2 separate regions of the Homo sapiens genome follow, and region 2 is linked to region 1. The links are contacts of gene promoters, found by promoter capture Hi-C in blood cells and fetal thymus (Javierre and others, 2016). All regions are on one chromosome and are shown on one strand. The core of a region is centred on a gene start or on the middle of the fragment in contact, and the rest is flanking DNA. Distances in the headings are between cores, read along the strand shown.

What was found. Contacts are between HindIII fragments. The CHiCAGO score rates a contact against its expected background, and 5 or more counts as called.
Region 2: a fragment that was not itself captured here is called in contact with the fragment with the promoter of MMP24-AS1-EDEM2 in region 1 in 1 of 17 cell types (endothelial precursors); the score reaches 6.4 in endothelial precursors.

The regions. Positions count from the first base shown.
Region 1 is chr20:35,276,734-35,279,461 of GRCh38, reverse strand. It overlaps MMP24-AS1-EDEM2 (MMP24-AS1-EDEM2 readthrough), which reads left to right and starts at 1,340. Exons shown (of 15, transcript NM_001355008.2): 1 at 1,340-1,416. It overlaps MMP24 (matrix metallopeptidase 24), which reads right to left. Exons shown (of 9, transcript NM_006690.4): 9 at 2,464-2,728. It overlaps MMP24OS (MMP24 opposite strand), which reads left to right and starts at 1,340. Exons shown (of 2, transcript NM_001355003.2): 1 at 1,340-1,453; 2 at 1,530-2,728. The coding sequence starts at 1,533. The coding sequence ends at 1,748. EIF6 (eukaryotic translation initiation factor 6) reads left to right here. Exons shown (of 7, transcript NM_002212.4): 7 at 256-544. The coding sequence ends at 265. RefSeq lists silencers at 1,161-1,380, 1,471-1,690 and enhancers at 1,821-1,990, 2,111-2,210. The HindIII fragment of the contact is 17,447 bases long and covers 1-2,728 here.
Region 2 is chr20:34,879,782-34,882,481 of GRCh38, reverse strand. The region is part of intron 1 of ACSS2 (acyl-CoA synthetase short chain family member 2); the gene reads right to left. Among named protein-coding and RNA genes, the nearest start is that of ACSS2, 4.5 kb to the right of the region's middle. The HindIII fragment of the contact is 1,520 bases long and covers 636-2,155 here.

The DNA of each region.
Region 1 (2,728 bases), core at 91-2,590:
CTGGTAGCTTCTCGAGTGTGAGAGCATATCTGTACACTGCTGAGCAGATAAGAGCCAGCATATTCAAAAAATATTTCTTGAGCATCTGCTAATCCTCATCTTTGTGGTTTTTCAGGGCTAGGATACTAGAGCAGTAGCTGCTTGAGCAGCTTGTCAGAGCTGGTCCCGGGATGAGGGCTGAGGCAGGCACCTCACTTGAGAGTGAGGTGGGCTCTGTGAAACAGCTACTGACCGTGCGCTTTCCTTTCTCTTCAGCCTCACCTGAGTCACCTTCCAAGTTGTTCCATGGGCTCCTGGCTCTGGACTGTGGCCAACCTTCTCCACATTCCGCCCAATCTGTACCGGATGCTGGCAGGGAGGTGGCAGAGAGCTCACTGGGACTGAGGGGCTGGGCACCCAACCCTTTTCCACCTGTGCTTATCGCCTGGATCTATCATTACTGCAAAAACCTGCTCTGTTGTGCTGGCTGGCAGGCCCTGTGGCTGCTGGCTGAGGGTTCTGCTGTCCTGTGCCACCCCATTAAAGTGCAGTTCCCTCCGGGCCATTCTGAATGTGATGTTTGGGGCCCTCAGCCTGTGTACAATCCCTGCACTCTCCAGTTGTTCCAGCATTCTGGGAAGATAGGGTGGGATGAACACAACACACACCCAACCCAGTTCACCACCTCCACACACGCCATTCCCTTCTCCTCTACCATCAGGATGTGAGGCTTCATCCTGGGGCAAGAAACACTCTCCACTACAGTTCTCCTTTTTTCTTTTTTCTTTTTGAGGCAGTGTCTCCCTCTGTCACCCAGGCTGGAGTGTTGTGACGCAAGGATGGCTCACTGTAGCCTTGACCTGTTGGGCTCAAGCGATCCTCTCGCCTCGTTTATTTTTTTGTAGAAACGAAGTCACTGTGTTGCCCAGGCTGGTTTATACTCCTGAACTCAAGCGACCCACCGCCTCGGCCTCCCAAAGTGTTGGGATTACAGGCGTGAGCCACGGCGCCCGGTCTAGTTCTCACAGTTTTCACCCGACTTCTGCGCCGGTCTTCTCTGGCCTTGAAAGGCAGAGAGTCCGTTCCGATTTTCCCCTGAGCTGGGCAAGTCCCCTGTGAGAGCTCTGGGGCATCTGGCTTCGGGGCATTCTTTGACTAAGGTGGATGGAGGTTGCAGGTCTTTTCCTGGGTGGGCGTGGGGCGGGGCAGCGGGTTCCCAGCGTCCTCCTGGCCTGGGCGTCTTGGAGGCTGTTGGGGTGCATTCCGTCCCCTTGCGCGGGGCGGGGCCTTGAGGCGCTGGGGCGGGATTGGCGGGGGACGGTCGCGGAGCCCCGCCCCGAAGCACAGGGTCGAGTCCCTTCTTTCCGCTCCAACGCACGGAGGGTGAGGTCGGTACGCGGTGGTGGCGTCACGGCGCCAGCTCCTCCCGACGCCGAGGTGGGTTCCGGGAGACCCGCGGGTCTGGCTGCGAGAGGTGAGGGCAGAGCCGGGGCGGGGCCCTAGCGGGGTGTCCCGGCGACCCAGACCTTAAAGGGCTTCTCTTCTTGCAGACCATGGGGGCTCAGCTAAGCGGCGGCCGCGGCGCCCCGGAGCCTGCGCAAACCCAGCCCCAGCCCCAGCCCCAGCCTGCGGCGCCGGAGGGCCCGGAACAGCCCCGGCATCCGCCCCAGCCCCAGCCCCAGCCCCAGCCCCAGCCCCAGCCCGAGCCCAGCCCGTGGGGGCCGCTGGACGACGTGCGCTTCCTCATCGCCTGCACTTCCTGGTACTGACGGCGTCCTCCGCAGGATGTCGCCCGTCTGTCCGCCGTCCCCTGTGGTTCTTGCCTGCCTTGTCTCCTCTCCCCACGTCCCTGCGTCTCTTACACCCCCTCCCACCCGAGGCTCCCCAGAGATAGCAGAGAATTCGAAGAGGTCGCCGGGGACTGGAAAGAAGTCCCGGCAGGGCCGCCTTCGCAGTCTACACCCCAGCCTGCTTCCCAGCCTACACCCAGACCCAGCTCAGACCTTCGTGACCACCCCATCCCTTTCTCCGGCTGGCTGGGTCGGGGGCATCCCTCTCTGTCGCTGGCTTCCAGAGGCAGGACAGGCCTCCTGGTAAGCCCGCAAAGTTGCTGACCTCCTGACTTCGTCTGCCTTTTATTAATATCTGTATTGCTGATAACCGTGCTCTTGACTATGTGTCCCAGGTCATGTCCCAGGTCATGGAGAAGCCCGTGCCACAGTGACCCTCCCCATACTCCTGGGGGGGCTGCTCTCCATCCTGGATCGTAAGGAGGCATCATCAGGCTGTGTTCCTGGAACCCCAATAACCCTGGGCCCCCAGGGCCAGCCTGTTGTAGAGGGAGGCTATCTGACCGCCGGTCTGGCAGAGGAGATGGGTGGGCAGCTCCCAGACACCCCAAAGGACCCGGTTCTCTTCCCAGAGCGTCCTAAGGTTACTCTTGGAACCTGATCTTTGTTCCCTCATCCCAGGGAAATGACACACTCTGTATTTCTGTTTTATTTAGAAATGATTTAAAAAACATTATACAAAGGCTGATCAGTTTAAAATGTGACTGACACTGAAATGCTGTGATGTCCCCCAGGCTGAGGGGAAGCTAGGCTCTGGGGCCCCCAGTGCTTTGCCCCTCTGTCTGCCCTGTCCTGGGGTGATGGACAAACAGATGACCACAGGCAGGAGAATCTGAGATTGGAAGCCTCTAGGCTGAGCCCTCTGGGCCTGGCCCCACATCCCTCACCTCTGCAGCCTG
Region 2 (2,700 bases), core at 146-2,645, 400 kb after region 1:
CCTGGCTAATTTTTGTATTTTTAGTAGAGACGGGGTTTCACTATGTTGGCCAGGCTGGTCTCGAACTCCTGACCTCGTGATCCGCCCGCCTCGGACTCCCAAAGTGCTGGGATTACAGGCTTGAGCCACCGCGCCCGGCCAGCAGCCAACACTCTTCTAACCCATCTTCTATTCTCTTGGGCTGAATCTTGACTCAAATTCTTCCTCCTGTCCTCAAGACTGCCTACTCACTTTTTACCATCTATTAAAATCAGAGCCACCTAGTACTAGCACAATGCCTAGCACAAAATAGGCAATCAGTAATTTTTTGTTGCTGTTGCCCAGGCTTGTCTTAAACTCCTGGACTCAGCTGTCCTCCTGCCTCAGCCTCCCAAGAAGCTGGGATTATAGGTACACACCGAGTTCTGCTGAAATCAGGTACAATTTTTTTCACCATCTGTCTAACTAGAAAGTAAATTTTTTAATGAAGTAATTAGTAAAAAGAAAAAATTCTTCACCCACAGAACCTTCCATGACCAACTCTTTCTTCTCTTAATTCGTGCATTCTCTCTCAGCAATTATATATTGAGCATCTCCTTCTCCAGCTTCTACTTATATAAGTGTTATTCACTATGTGCCAAATGTTTCTTTAAGCTTTTCATATGTATTATCTCATTTAATCCTTACCACAACTCTAGAAGGGAGGCTTTTCTCATTTTATAAACTTGAAAATCAAGGCTCAGAGAGGTTAAATAACTTGTCTAAGGTTACACAATTACTAAGTCAAGATCTAAACTTCCTTGAGACATTTTTGCTAAAATCTGAAAGATGAATAGAAGTTTTTCTCCACTCCCATATGAAAAAAAGAGACCAAGGGCATATGTTAGGAGGAACTCCTTGAGGCTGAAACACTGAGAATAAGGGAAAGAATAGCAGGAATTGATGCATAAACTGGGCAAATCATGCAATTCTGTGTATAATAAGGAATTTGGTATATATCCCAAGAGCAATGAAAATTCATTGAAGGGTTTTAAGCAAGTAACATGATCAAATTTACATTCTTAAAATATCTGCCTGGCTATTCTGCAGAAAATGTACTCAACAGGTAAAACATATGAATGCAGAGAATTTAGGATAGTCTGAGTACTGAATCAAGAGTTAGAGGATGCCAGGCACTGTGGCTCACTCCTGTAATCCTAGCACTTTGGGAGGCCAAGGCGGGCGGATCACCTGAAATCAGGAGTTCGAGACCAGCCTGACCAACATGGTGAAATCCTGTCTCTACTAAAAATACAAAAAAAAAAAAAAAATTGCCAGGTGTGGTAGCGGGTGCTTGTATTCCTAGCTACTCAGGAGCGTGAGGCAGGAGAATCGCCTGAACCTGGGAGGTGGAGGTTGCAGTGAGTTGAGATTGCACCACTGTACTCCAGCCTAGGCAACAGAACAAGACTCTATCTCAAAAAAAAAAAAAAAAAAAAAAAAAAATTTGGAGGAAAGAGAAGCAATTAGAACCGTAACAATGGAAGTAACCTTACAGATTATCACCCCCTCATTTCATTTCATAAGAAATAAAATTCATAGAAGCTAAGTCATTTGTTTCAGGTTACACAATTTAGAGCTTATACAATCTAGTTGGAGAGATAAGATTAACACATGAAATATTTTTTAATGTACAAGACAGAATATAATTGAAAGCTAAATCACATAGTGTACAACGTTGTAATGTATTAAAGAAATCCAAATTAAATCAACCCCAAGGTGCCATTATATACCTAGAAAACTAGTAAAAATTTAAAAAAATTATTAAGCCCAATGTCTGGGTGGCCCTGGGAAAACAGATACTCTTACACAATAATGGCATTGTAAGAAATTGGCGCAGTCTTATTAGATTGCAAGGCAATGCATGACAAGAGCCATAAAACTTTTTTTTTTTAATTTCTATTATTATTATTTTTTTAGCTCGGTGTCTCGCTCTTTGTCACCCAGGCTGGAGTGCAGTAGCATGATCTCAGCTCACTGTAACCTCCATCTCCCTGGCTCAAGTGATCCCCCCATCTCAGCTGTACCCCCTCCCCCACCAGTAGCTGGAACTACAGGCGCACATTGTTTGTTTGTTTTGTAGAAACAGGGTTTGGCCATATTACCCAGGCTGTTCTTAAACTCCTAAGCTCAAGCTTTGGGAGCCCACCTTGCCCTCCCAAAGGATGCTGGGATTATAGGTGTGGGCCACCACGCCCAGCCCATAAAACTTTTTATACCCTTTTCTCTGCTATCTCAACTATAGGGAATAGACTTCAAGAAAATAATCACAAAGAAAAAAAGTGATTAGTAAAGAGATGTTTATAGCAACACTATAATAGTGAAACTGGAAACAACCCAATAGCCCAACAATAACAAACTGATGAAAACTAGTAATACAAGTAGTAATACCATAGAATAATAAATGGCCATTAAAGAGAAAGCAAATGAGAGCTAGTATTTAGTAAATGCCATTCATGTATCAGGGACTGGACTAATCTCATTTAATCTTTATGACATTATGGTCTTACAAAGTATACATTAATTATCCTAATTTTATAGATGAGAAAACTGAAGCTCAGGAAGCACAGGAAACTCTGCCAAGGACCACGCAGCTAATAACGAGAGTACAAATACTCAAAAATATTTTCAAGTGATAATAGTAGGCATATAGTATATAAAACTATTTATAAACCACATTTA